4 separate regions of the Homo sapiens genome follow, and all the other regions are linked to region 2. Evidence: promoter capture Hi-C in 16 types of primary human blood cells and fetal thymus (Javierre and others, 2016). All regions are on one chromosome and are shown on one strand. Each heading gives the region's core, a stretch centred on a gene start or on the middle of the fragment in contact. The rest is flanking DNA. Distances are from core to core; before and after follow the strand shown.

Region 1 (3,306 bases), core at 242-2,741, 1.4 Mb before region 2:
CAAGCCAGCTCATTAGAGTTGTCATATGAGATCAAATCTCTTGCTCTCTCTGTAAGGATGTATTCTCTGTGATGGTTGTACCAAACCTTTCCCACTACTGTGCTTTGCAGGTGATCTTGCCTTTTTCTTCATGGAGAGGATCATGGCCTCTTCCTGGGTTTACTGCCTTCTCTTCATCTCTTTTCTGTATTCCTTTAATTTTCTTTCTTCTTCTTCTTCTTTTTTTTTTTTTGAGATGGAGTCTCGCTCTGTTGCCCAGGCTGGAGTGCAGTGGTGTGATCTCGGCTCACTGCAACCTCCACCTCCTGGGTTCAAGCGATTCTCCTGCCTCAGCCTCCCAAGTAGCTGGGATTACAGACGTGTGCTACCATGCCCGGCTAATTTTTGTATTTTTAGTAGAGATGGGGTTTCACCATGTTGGTCAGGCTGGTGTGGAACTCCTGACCTCAGGTGATCCACCTGCCTTGGCCTCCTAAAGTGCTGGGATTACAGGCGTGAGCCACCACGCCCAGCCTTCCTTTAATTTTATTTCTGAGGAAAAGGGGTCTCTTCTTTTTTTCCTAATTCCTCTCTTTTGTTCTGGTCTTCTCTCTTCCCCTTTTTTTGATCTAAGACATTTCTCCATCAGCCATTCCCACTTCTGTTTATAATGCCTATCCCTGCCTGAAGATATACTCATATCCATCCTAGAAAGCTGCTCTCCCCAACTAAGTACCTCCAGTTGTCCCCTGTCCTTTTTCTCAGGGTTCATTGTTGCCAGCTTCTCACAGCATTCACACCCTGCCTGGAGAGCCAGTCCTCGATTCTCGCTCTTCCCCAGCTTTCATTGCACTGTATTGTCCACTGCAGTCACAGTGCTTCCCGTTCATTGATTACCAACTACGTGTTGCCTTACTTAGTCCTTACAGTGACTCTCCACATCAACGGCATTTCTATCCATTTTACAGTTAAAGCTGAGAGTCCTTTATTGCTCAATTCAAACCAAACAACTAATTCGCAATTATTATTATTTTTTTGGTCAAAGAAGTCACAGAACCAAGCCCCTAGGGCAATCAGAATTTTTTATTTGATTATAATCATGTTGCTGGTACTTGTTAATGGTCAAGTGTTTTCATAACCTCAAAATGTTATTTTCTTGTTTAGAAATGCCACTGCCTAGTAATGATAATGATGGAGTAGACTGAATTTACAGGTAGAATAAAATGTCTGCACTCCCATGTTAATTGCAGCATTATTCACAATAGCCGAGATATGGAAACCCATATTAAGTGCCCACCACTGGATGAATGGATAAAGAAATTGTGGTATGTGTGTACAGCAGAATATTATTCAGCCTTAAAAAAGAAGGAAATCCTGCCATTTGCAACAGCATGGAGGAATCTGGGGACATTATGCTAAGTGAAAGAAGCCAGACACAGAAAGACAAATATTGCATGATATTACTTATATGTGACATCTAAACTAGTCAAACTTGGAGAAAAAGAGTGGAATGGTAGTTGCCAGGGGCTGGGAAGTGGGGAAGATGGGGAGATGTCGGTCAGAGGATACAAAATTTTAGTTACAGGGTGAATGAATTCTAGTGATCTAGTGTACAGCATGGTAACTATAGTTAATGTGTTGTGTACTTCAGATTTGCCAAGGGAGCAGATCTTAAGTGTTTTCAACACACACATACACACACACACACACACACACACACACACACACACACACACACGAAGCATGTCAGGTGATGGATATGCTAATTAGCTTGACTGTGAGTCATTACACAAAGTATACTTTTATAAAAACGTCATCTTGTATACCTTAAATATAGACAATTTTTTGTCAGTCATACCTCAAAAAATGTCTACACAGACTTAGTGAGACTCATGACATGAGTCATGTTAAAGGATATAAGAAACAAATAAAAGTTTAAAAATGCTTTTCTTAACCCAAGTCTTATTGTTAGGATTCCTCATAATCCAGTCATGACTTCAATTAGAAATCCTTGCCGTGGGATATCAAGACTCTTGTCCAAGGAGAGGAAGGGGCAGGAGGGTCTCACTCTTGTTCTCTCCTTGTAAAAATTTAACTCTGTTTGCAGGAGAGAGTATTTGACGAATACATGAACAAATAAATGAATGAAATGAACGAAGGAATAGAATTAATCTGATCAAAGTTTACATGTTCAAATTATGTGTTGAATTGGATAGAGCAGCTGCTGGCCCTTACTTTTTTCTGGGCCTATTTCAAATGGTCTTCTTTACTAGGCTTTCAATTGGAGATTTAGACTTGGAGGCTTTAACAAATATGAATTGAGTACACATTTGTATAGCGATTTAAACTGCTATTATCACAAAATTGTCACAGTAGTTTTAAACTCTGTCAGATGGCTTTTAACCAAACCCTGCCATCAGAGTCAAATTTGATTCTTTGGATGGTTCTTTCCTTTTTTCTGTCTCTTTCACATTGTCTAGTAAAGAAGTTTCTTCAATGACCAGTTTTGTCATAGAGTTGGTGCCATTTATTCTGTGGGTTACAAATTTATCATCACAAGTAGCTAGATGTACTTCTCATAGACAACTTGTATCCACAAATTTGTTGTTTTTTTCTTTTTTTCTTTTTTTTTTTTCTGAGCCATTCTCCCTAGAAAACACAAATTGTTTTGGGGGGAAAAATTAGACTGTTCTTCAGGGGTATTTATTTTCATGATTCACTGTGCAGAGATCGGAGTTGTGCCTTAAGGGCTTGGCTCTGCTCTCTTGATACTGGTATCCATTGCTAGGTGTGGCTCAATTAAACAGGAAGGATGGCTAGATAGCATATATATTCACATGTCAAATGGCAGCATCCATCTTTGAGACAGGAATCTTGGTGGGAAAAGTTCAATTTTTTAACAAATGTGAAATTACCTCCTCAATCATTTTTATTTCCGGTTAAATTAATGTCTTATATAAACACTGTAGGCTAGCATAGTATTTGATACCATTTAGTTTGCTCTCTCTTTTAGTTCCTAATTTTCATTGTAGTTCTCAGTGTTTGCTTTTTGAGTGTGAGTTTATGGCAGAATAAATCAAATTAACTTTGGTGGGTAGATTGAGTTTTCTCTGATGACCTTTACTAACCAAAACATACTTTCTTCTCAGGTGAAAAAGCCAGAGTGGATTATTATTTATTTGACTGACAAAGAAATGCATTTCTAATTTTATTTAGTGACTAAAATAAATTGATTCACCGTAAATTAAATATGAAATAAATGCATGATCCTCTCTTAATGAACCAAACAGATTGAGAGCCGAGCACCTTTGCAGTACACCTCTTTCA
Region 2 (3,461 bases), core at 782-3,281:
AATGTTCCTGCCAAATTAACATAGCTGAGGGAAAATAGGGCTTAGGTACTTGGTCAGTAAATGACATCTGTGGACTGTGAGGGAGGAAGTTCAACTCAGTTGTCTAACATCTCTTGGGTTTTATGGTCATTTTCTATTTTTAAAATTCTTTTATTTTCTTCCTGATTCAATTAACAAGTTTTTATTTAGTGCCTACTCTTTGCCCAGTACTGTCCTAGGAATCCTAGGAGATATAAAAGAAGCCGTCATGAAACAACTTTTACAGTTCTTGCCAAGTGTGGAGATCACTGTGGAATGGTGTGGCTAGAAAGTCATCCTGGAAGCAGAGTCTTACTTGCAGAGAAGCAGAAGGCTTAGACAAGTGGAAAGAGGGCAGGAGGGGCTGCTGGCCAGGGGCAAAGCTTGACAGGGGCAGAAAGCGATATAGGTGGTCAGAGAGGCCCGTTTGGAAAGTCCCTATAGGTCAGGCAGAAGAACTTAACCTTGGGAGTCCATTAAGAGTGATAAGAGAAGGAAGCCTGGTATTAGCAAGGAAATAAGAGAGAACTGAGAAACCAGATGCCAGGAGACCACCCTTGTTGCAATAATCCGGATGTAAAATGATGAGGGTTTGGATTTAGAATGTTCCAGGGGGAACAGAAAGGAAACAAAGAATTCATGAGACATTTCAAAGGAGGAAATACCAGGTCTTGATGACAGGCTGGAGATGATAATGGGAGAAGTCACACATGATTCCAGTTTTTCTACCTTGGGAAGCCAGCAAAGTGACTTCTTTTTAGATCTCTTTTCTTTGCTCACACACAAATTGACCCCCTCATAGAGTTCAGTTGAAATATCAATTACAAACAGAATTGATCTATTTTTTTTCCCTTAGAAACACAGGTAATCTTATTTGCCTTTAGCTAAACGACCCAAGATGCACCTTGCTGGGCTTTGCTCTTGGATAGCACTCATACCTCTATGACAATGCTCCCCACTTTGGCCTTGTACTGCGTGTGTGGTGTGCAGGTGCGTTTATCACCCACTAAACCAAAAGTCCGTGTTGTGCAGGGACCACGTCTCATGCAGAGTTAAGTATTCAAAAGTTTTTGTTAATTGTTTAAGAAAATGAGATTTACATGAAACAATACTTTAAAAAGCTTTCCAGAAACAACAGCATTAAAACAAAATCACTGAAATTAAAATTTACATAAATTAAAAGGTTCTGTGTTCCACATGCCAAGAAAAGATCTTACACTATTGTAATAGTGGTAGGGTCACACAGTTTTATTCCTCAGCTTAAGTGCTGCAATACAGTAATAATGCAGTACAAGAATACTGTATAATAAACCTTAAACGAAACACTTCATATATACTTTACACAAGTTATTGGATATTGCTTAGTATTTATTTCCCCCACCCCTGCTGTGCAAAGATATTAATATCCCTCTTTTATAGGAGAGGAAACAGGTAAAGAGAAGTTAAGAAACTTGCACAAGGTCATCCAGCTAGTAAATGTTGGAGCTGGGATTTGACAACTTTGTCAAGTCTCCATCCTTAACAGTTCTGCTCTATATTGCATAAGCAGACAGCTCCCTTTTGGGGACTGACAGGTTATTTGAGGCATATGAACCATTTTTGGTGGGGGGGCTTTCCCACCCAGTACTGGAAGTGTCTAGTTATATGGGGCATAACCTTAGGAGCAAGCAGGAAAAGAAGAAATGTATTCCAATAGTGTTCAGAAATATACCAGAGTAAACGAATAACCATCAATAACAGCATTTTACAGCCTACCTAATAACACAGGAATAAAACCCTTTATCTGGAACCTAAATAATACCCCCTCCACTCATTTTATTAAAAGCCTTGCTTTATTTGGAAACTCTTAAAATAAGTGGTCATACGATTAAAAAAAGCAGCGGCGCGCCCCCTCCCCGGCGGCCGGGCGCAGCTGTCCGCGCCTCCCCCGCGCGGCTGCCCGCATTCCAACTCTCTGAGGTCACGGGCCGCCGCCGCCTCCCCGGATCCGCCCGCCCGGCTCAGGGGGAGGGACGCCTGGGCCCGGCCGCCCCGCTGCTCCGGCCGCGCGTCCCGCGTCGGTCCGACGGTCTGTCCGTCCTCCTGCCACCCCCCGCCCCCACGGGGCTTCTTTGTGCGGCGCTCCTCGCCGGCCGGTCCCACCTCCAGGCCTCGCCCCTCGCCGTCGCCACCGCCGGACTCTGCCCAGGGGAATGGTCTGCGAGCCGGGTTTTTGGAGACAGGAAGTGAGGCGTGCGAGCCCCATGAGCGCGCCGCGGCCCGGGCTGGCGTGCGGGTGCGGCTGCGGCGGCCGCGCGGCGGGGCCCCGGGAGGCGGGTCGCTGAGCGGGGCGCGCGGCCCCGAGGATGCGGGAGCGGGAGCGGGAGCAGGTGAGGGCGCGGTCCCCGGCCGGCGGGAGGGGCGGGCGGCTGGCCCGAGCGGTGGGGTGTGTCCACTCGCCCGGACCCCGGAGCGCGCCCGCGGCCCCGGAATCCCGGAGAATGGGGCGCGGCGGCCAGACCCGTAGCGGGAGCGTAACAAAGAGAAAAGTCTTGTTTTTCAGGTTCGCTCTCATATACTTGAGTAATTTCTAAAAGGAGTCTTGAACTTCTATTCCGAACGCCCTGGCCGATTGTTGCGGGTTAATTCTGGATCAGGGTTTTAAATGTGTTAGGCATATTTGTGCCTCTCAGAATATATAAACGTGAAATTCGCCAGATAACTTTGGCGAGAAGGGGCGCAGGGAAGGACTGTTTGGTAACGCCTGGGTTTGTTTTTGGAGTAGAGTATTTACTCTGGAAACAAGAATTCTTGGATCTGCAAATTCCGACTTGTGATTTCTGCAAATCCTGATTAGATTGGCCGCTCTTGGCATGCTCGTCCTATTTTCTTTTTTGCTGAGAAAGCCTTATACTAATAGCGTATGCTCACAAACACATTCAGAACATTCGTGTGCTCCAAGTGACAACTGCTGTATGCCTAATAGTTGCTGACAGTTTATTTATTTTTTTAAGTTTGGGACACGACAGTAATTTTACTCTGAATATAGTCCGTTTCGTTTCTAGGGCATTTTATTCTGGAGCATCTACGCACAGATGTTTTCTCCGTGAGAAACATGGGTTTAATGCTATAGCTATAGATATTACTCTAAAAATGTCACATACTCTCTCCTTTTAGTGCTTATTTTATTTTAAAGCAACTTTGGCAAAATTACATGTGGTAAGGACCTTAATAGGAAAGGGGAAACGCTGTAAGATTGAGAGGTAAAGTGTATTTGAGGAACTTTTGGAAAGGGTTGTAGAGAGGGAAAATTAAAATGAATTCACAAATAGTTCAGACTGCCTTTTGTAAACTTGTACTGAAGCAGAATCTAGTATGTATCTGTTTACTTACCACAAAACGGAAAGATTTTGTAGAGAAAAAATTATATCCTAGTTTTCCTTTAATAGCTATTTATAAATTAT
Region 3 (3,572 bases), core at 334-2,833, 1.4 Mb before region 2:
AATATGGTAGATTTAAATCCAATCATTAATGTTTTAGTTAGATGTAAATGATCTCAACAGCCCCATTGAAAGGGAGATACTGTTAAATTAGATAAAAGAGTACCAACTAACTCTGTGTTGCCTAGAAGCCCACTTTAAACATAAGGGCAAAAAAGATTAGAAATATATACTGTACTGAACACTAACCAAAAGTATGCCAAAGTGAGCATGTTAATATCAGATGAAGTAGACTTCAGAAGAAGAAATATTACCAGGGATAAGGAGAGCCAGTTCATTAAGGGAATTAAACATTTATGCCCCTGGCCAGGTGCCATGACTCAAGCCTGTAATCCCAGCACTTTGAGAGGCCAACGCAGACGAATCACTTGAGGCCAGGAGTTTGAGACCAACCATGATGAAACCCCGTCTTTACGAAAAAATACAAAAAAATTAGCTGGACATGGTGGTGCATGCCTGTAATCCCAGCTACTCGGGGGGCTGAGGCACGAGAATCATTTGAGCCCAGGAGGTGGAGGTTGCAGTGAGCCCAGATTGCATCACGGCACTCCAGCCTGGGTGACAGAGCAAGACTCTGTCTCAAAAAAAAAAATAAAAAAAAAAAATCCCCTAATAATGGAAATTCAAAATACATGAAGCAAAAAACTAATAAAACTGTAAAGAAAAATGGACAAATCCATAATGATGGTAGGAGGTTGCAACACCCCTATCAATAATTAAGCAAGTAGACATAAAATCAATAAGGATATAGGAGACGTGAACAGCACTGTCAACCAGTGTGACCTAATTGTAATCTATAGAATGTTCTACCCAACAAAAGCAGAATACACATTCTTTTCAAGTCTACACAGTATATTTAATAAAATTGGTCATACTCTGGGCCATTAAACATGTCAATACATTTAAAGTACAAAGTATGTTCTTTGTGATGGAACGACATTAGAAATCAATAGCAAAGCTGTCTGGAAAAGTTGCAAATAGTTGTTCCAAGTAAAAGTTTAAAAGTTCCAAACAAATAGCACACTTCTAAATAACTCATAGGTCAAAGAAAAAATCAAAAGGGAAAAATTAGGAAGTATTTTGAATTGAATGAAAAGACCACATTTCAAATTTTGTAGGATGGATTGAAAGCAATACTTGGAAAGTGGTAGCACTAACTTTCTATGTTTAGGAAAGAATAAAGGTGTCAAACTGATGACCTCAGCTTCTACCTTTAATTATCTTCTACCTTTAACTACAAAAAAGAGTAAATAAGGCCCGAAATAAGTGGAGGAAAGGAAATAGTAAAGATTGGAATGGAAATTGTTGAAATTGAAAAGAGGACAAACAAGAAAAAATTAAAAGCTGATTTTGTTGAGGTAATCAATAAAAATGAGAAACTACTACCCACACTGAGTGGGGGGGGAAAAGAGAGCAGGGATTACTAACATTTAGATTTAAAATCTAATATTTTATTAGATTTATTATTAGATCTAATAAAATCTAATATTTTATTAGATTTATTATTAGATCTAATAAAATCTAATATTTTATTAGATTTATTATTAGATCTAATAAAATCTAATATTTTATTAGATTTATTATTAGATCTAATAAAATCTAATATTTTATTAGATTTATTATTAGATCTAATAAAATCTAATATTTTATTAGATTTATTAATATTGTATTAAAATCTAATACACTTTATGTACAAGGTTTAGAATCACATTTAAAATAAGACTTTCAGGATTATTGCTAGGAGAACATGTTCTTGATATAATCGCTAACTTGATAGAATTGCTCCAGGTTTTAAATTTCTTGTTGAAAATTTTCACTTTCAAAATATTCAGAATAATGTTTGATGTTCCATTAGTTACAACTTCTTGATAAAGCCTTTTCTACATTTTTTTCATTAGGGTTTTTTGTGAATATTCCAATCTACAGAGAGTTTTGTTTTCTGGCAAAAGGATTTCCCACATTCTTTGCATTGATAGGATTTCTCTTTCTTAAGAGTTCCCTGATATTCAGTGAGTTATTCTTTCTGGATGAAGATCTTACCCTAGTCATAATATCGTGTTTCTCTATTATGTTACTGATATGGATTGGCTGTGTCCCCACCCAAATCTCATTTTGTAACTCCCATAATTCCCACGTGTTGTGGGAGGGACCCAGTGGGAGATAATTGAATAATGGGGGCAGGTCTTTCCCAGGCTGTTCTTGTGATAGTGAATAAGTCTCACGAGATTTGATGGTTTTAAAAAGAGAAGTTCCCCAGCACAAGCTCTCTCTTGTCTGCTGTCATTCATGTAAGACATGACTTGCTCCTCTTTGCCTTCCGCTATGATCGTGGGGGCTCCCCAGCCGTGTGGAACTGTAAGTCCATTAAACCTCTTTCTTTTGTAAATCGTCCAGTCTCATCTTTATCAGCAGCATGAGAAAAGATTAATACAGTGGCTTTTCTGATACATCAAGTGTGACTATTGCTGAAGGCATTTTAACATTCATTATTCTCATAGACTTTCTTTCTTCTGTATGTTCTCTGATTTTGAATTAAGGATTTGACTTCACACTGAATGTTTTCTTTCCTTAACTAGTTCTCTAATGTGCAGAGAGGTATGGATTCTGGAAGAAAGAATACAGTCCCCACCTGTATTCTCCCAGCTGTACTCTAGTGTGAGTGTGTATGTATGTGTGTGTGTGTGTGTGTTTATTTGGAGAAACTCAAGACCACAAACATTCAAGAAAAGGAGTAAAATAGCCTAGCAAGAAATCACTGCTGTACTCTGATTGCTGCTAACATGCAATTTTTCTATTAGAATTGTTCAATACTGAACCAATTTCAAACCATCCACTTTTTCTTCTTTCCCTCTTATTGATACGAGTCAATTTTACATGCTATTTCTCTTGAAGGAAGAGAGCACATGTGCAGATTAAATGTTTTTCCACATATATTATCTCTCTTCTTAATGTTTGGATCTTGAAGAACTGAAATTGGCGGGGTGTGGTAGCTCACGCCTGTAGTCCCATGCAATTTGGGAGGCCAAGGTGGGTGGATCACTTGAGCCCAGGAGTTTGAGACCAGCGAGAGCAACATGGCGAAACCCCATCTCTACAAAAAATACAAAAATGAGCCAGGCCTGATGGTACATGCCAGTCCCAGCTACTCAGGGGGCTGAGGTAGAGGATTGCTTGAGCCCAGGAGGTTGAGACTGCTGTGAGCCATGATCACGCCACTGCACGCCAGCCTAGGTGACAGAGCGAGACCCTGTTTCAAAAAAAAAAAAAAAACAGGTCTGAAATGCTGGCCTTGGCCTCCTGGGAACTATTTATTCAGGTAATCAACTTTCCAAAGTTGTTCTGTATAATACAGCTGTGACTTGGGAATTCTCTGCTATCCATTGTTCTTCTTACTTCGGAACAGGGCTCTAACACACCATCCACAGGATTCTTTTGCAGGGCCCAGTTGCTGCCCAGCTTGCAGGGCAAGGTCAGACTCACATTCTAGGTTGGCCCAGACTCAGCTGCTTTTAGGAAGGGCCAGAGTCCGGAAGCTAGACACCCTGCACTTTGGGTTCGGGATTATACCTAAACCT
Region 4 (3,270 bases), core at 166-2,665, 1.4 Mb before region 2:
TAAATATGGGACAGGAAAAAAATCTGAAATAAGGGTAATAATGTTTATTGTATCTGCCATGTGAATATATTACACTGGTTACTTCATATATTTGCTCCCATTTTTCTGCATTTCCAGTTTAAAGATGAGCAAACTAAAATTCAGAGAATGTTAGGTCCTGTGTTAACAATCCATACAGCAAATGAGTGGTGAGGCCAGAAAGCAGATTCTAGAGCTCCTGCTCTTCCTCCTGCAGGTGCTCCCTGAGGAATAAGGAGAGCAAACTAAGGCCATCTTTTGATCCATAACTGAAACATCTATTTGCACTCAGGCACTATTTTGTTTTTTCTTCTTCTTCTTCACCAGGAACTAAAACCAGGCTTTTAAGCAGTGGTTCTCAAACTTGACTGGGCAGTAGAATCCCCTCAAGGGCTCGTGAAAACACAGACTGCAGGATCTCACCCTCAGAGTCCAATTTAATGAATCGGGAATGGGGCCCGAGAATTTGCATTTTAACAAGTTGCAGGTGATGCTGAGGCTGCTGGTCCAGGGCCCATGGAGAACTACTACTGTTGTCAAGTATTTGCTACCTTGTTGATAAACTGTTACTCATCAAGCTTCATCTTAAAAAGTTAAATAATGCTAAACATCGTGCTAAGTGATATAAGGGGTTGAGCTACAGGGTTTTGAGAACACACGCTCTGCCTGAGTTAAGTAAACAGTCTGCTGTTATACTAATGCACTTGCCTGTCAAGAATTTTTTTCCTGAAAGTAGTTAAGAACACAAAGAAGAGTTCTCAGAAACTATTCTAGGCTGCCCTCCTTGTTTCACGGAGGAGAGACTCTCAAGGGCAATTCAACAGCTCCTTGACACCCAGCATCCTCTTACCCTTGATGTGGAGGGCTCCAGAGTTATACTTTGGCTTAACTCCAGAGACTCTAGTGAGGTAAAACTGGAAGGGGTTCCCTTTATCCAGCATGTCCCAAATGTCCTGGCCCTCCCCTGATGTCTCATACTCGTCTTCCTCCTCTTTGAGCCTGTGGCAGGCGGGAGCGCCATGATTTTCAGTTCTTTGGGCAGTGCCGTCATTGGGAGCAGAGATGTCTTTCTCCTTTTTGATCACCACTTTCTCAGCCTGCTTCTGCGGCATTTCTGGTTGCAGCTCATCATCACTGCTGGACAGACACCAGCCGAGGTCCTCCTGGGAACCGCTTTTCTGCCTTTTGGGAGGTAAAACTGAATCTGTATTGCTGAATTTCACAGGTGATATTTTCCTCTTGTGTGCAGCTTTCTGGGCCTCGGAACAGGTGTACCTGGGCTCATTTGCTGCTCCTTGCCTGGCACAGAGAAGAGAAGAGGTAGATGGCTTGTCTGGTTTTGGCTTTTCTTCCTCACTTTCATCACTACTAGATATGGTCCACCTCCCATAATCGCCTTCCTGAGACATTATACTCCTGGAAATGAAAAGTGGAAACATCAGCATTTCCCATTCATCAGGGCATTGGCAAAATAACTTTATTGCTCTCAACTTCCCTGTCAGATGAGCTGACACCTTCCAGAGGCTGAACCACCTAACATCAGCTGCTTTTTGGGTGTTTATAAGCACATTACCAGAATCCACTATCAGATTCTGCCAAATCACAAGCAAAAGTCCTGGTCACCTTTCTTTTTTCTTCCTTTTTTTTTTTGAAACAGGGTCTCGCTCTGTCACCCAGCTGGAGTGGTGCAGTGGTTCAATCTCAGCTGACTGCAACATCTGCCTCCTGGGCTCAAGCAATCCTCCTGCCTCATCCTCTCGAATAGCTGGAACTACAGGTGCACGCCATCACGTCTGGCTAATTTTTTTTTTCTTTTTTTTTGGTAGAGACAGGGTTTCATTATTGTTGCCCAGGCTGGCCTTGAACTCCTGGACTCAAGAGATCCACCCACCTTGGCCTTCCAAAGTGCTGGGATTACAAGTATAAGCCACCATGCCTGGCCTTGGCTTTCAATCTAAACTTTGTTCTTAGATGTCCTAGGAAAGGGGGTTGAAGAATGCATCAAGACAAATGCCAAAATAAAACAAACATTCATTCTTGACCCCGAAACTTCCAATAAGCGTTTGGGATTAAGGTCCATTTAATCTATGTTCAAATGCTTAAGGTCAAATTGGAATTTACAAACCTAGCCTTCACCCAAGTACAGGCACCCACAGGACTTCAGTGATTATGTATGTCTTACTTCCCAAAAGACAACCCATTTACCATAAAGCTTAACAAAGTCTTCAAGAGGAAAGCCAAATGACCACTTAGGTATGTACATTATTTACACTACTTCCATGAGGACCCAACTAATTATAATTAGTTGGATATAATTATATCAAGATATAATTATCCTATTGGCTACATCATAAATCTACTAACACCTACACAGAAATAACTTGTACTGAAGCAACACACTTTTATTTTTTAAGCCCCACAGTCAAATTCTACTTTCTTGTTCTGAGAACAGGAAAGTACACGAAACAGTCACTTTTGCTGTTACCTACCAAATCTTGTCAATTCAGTGGTAAAGGACTATCTAAGTAGACTTTCCAGACAGCTAAAGAACAGTTCCTCAATGTGATACTTTTAACATTTTAGCACAAGACCCAGGGGAAAATTACAAAACTCAGTAGTCTGTGCTCAGATCAACAGTATCTTCGAGTTTCTGCTGTTTTAATGAGGCTGGAAAAGATGCATTGAGTGGAGTAAACCAAGATGGTGACACTCCCTTCACAAAACCTACATTCCCCAAAAAAGAGAATTCAACATTATTCTACATCAAAAGATTTGCAAATCAATACATATGCATATGTCTCTAGATGAGAACTAAAAATAAAAATCTTGGCTAAGGGGACCCCAGAGAAACCTTAAAAACTGAGTTCCGGGCCATGATGAGATGGGAGCTCAGACATGCCTGTTATATCCCCTCCCTTCTGCGGTTTAAACACAACTGACCAGAGATCGTAAGACTGGCAGAATAGATTCTGTGACAATATGACACTAAATCATAAACAAGACCTAAGGCCATGCCAAGCAAGGGTTAAATCACACACTGCTACCTTTAAACTATGTTCTACCTTCCACAAGGTTCTTTTTTCTTCAGCAGCTAAATAAGCACTGGCCTAGAGATAAGGAATATCTAAACAATTGCAGCTCACCTACTGCCAGATGCTTGACTAACTGACCCCTCTGGTTCCACAGGCCATGACTGCAGCTGTCATTGGACAATGGAGTAACTTTCTCCTGAAAAGAAACCACAGACTGGTT

What was found. Contacts are between HindIII fragments. The CHiCAGO score rates a contact against its expected background, and 5 or more counts as called.
Region 1: a fragment that was not itself captured here is called in contact with the fragment with the promoter of PTPN21 in region 2 in 3 of 17 cell types (naive CD8 T cells, M0 macrophages and monocytes); the score reaches 6.4 in naive CD8 T cells.
Region 3: a contact is called between a fragment that was not itself captured here and the fragment with the promoter of PTPN21 in region 2, in 1 of 17 cell types (total B cells). The highest score is 5.0, in total B cells.
Region 4: a contact is called between a fragment that was not itself captured here and the fragment with the promoter of PTPN21 in region 2, in 4 of 17 cell types (activated CD4 T cells, total CD8 T cells, naive CD4 T cells and 1 more). The highest score is 8.1, in activated CD4 T cells.

What each region holds. Positions count from the first base shown.
Region 1 is chr14:89,915,465-89,918,770 of GRCh38, reverse strand. All of the region lies in intron 5 of EFCAB11 (EF-hand calcium binding domain 11), which reads left to right. Among named protein-coding and RNA genes, the nearest start is that of EFCAB11, 38 kb to the left of the region's middle. The HindIII fragment of the contact is 4,035 bases long and covers 1-3,306 here.
Region 2 is chr14:88,553,577-88,557,037 of GRCh38, reverse strand. PTPN21 (protein tyrosine phosphatase non-receptor type 21) reads left to right here and starts at 2,031. Exons shown (of 19, transcript NM_007039.4): 1 at 2,031-2,387. LOC124903405 (proline-rich protein 2-like) reads left to right here and starts at 248. Exons shown (of 2, transcript XM_047432047.1): 1 at 248-275; 2 at 1,978-2,381. The coding sequence starts at 248. The coding sequence ends at 2,342. RefSeq lists a silencer at 2,024-2,073. The HindIII fragment of the contact is 3,064 bases long and covers 1,142-3,461 here.
Region 3 is chr14:89,942,943-89,946,514 of GRCh38, reverse strand. All of the region lies in intron 3 of EFCAB11 (EF-hand calcium binding domain 11), which reads left to right. Among named protein-coding and RNA genes, the nearest start is that of EFCAB11, 10 kb to the left of the region's middle. The HindIII fragment of the contact is 4,864 bases long and covers 1-3,572 here.
Region 4 is chr14:89,961,272-89,964,541 of GRCh38, reverse strand. It overlaps TDP1 (tyrosyl-DNA phosphodiesterase 1), which reads right to left. Exons shown (of 17, transcript NM_018319.4): 3 at 869-1,434. The coding sequence starts at 1,427. Among named protein-coding and RNA genes, the nearest start is that of TDP1, 7.0 kb to the right of the region's middle. RefSeq lists an enhancer at 467-1,666. The HindIII fragment of the contact is 1,634 bases long and covers 599-2,232 here.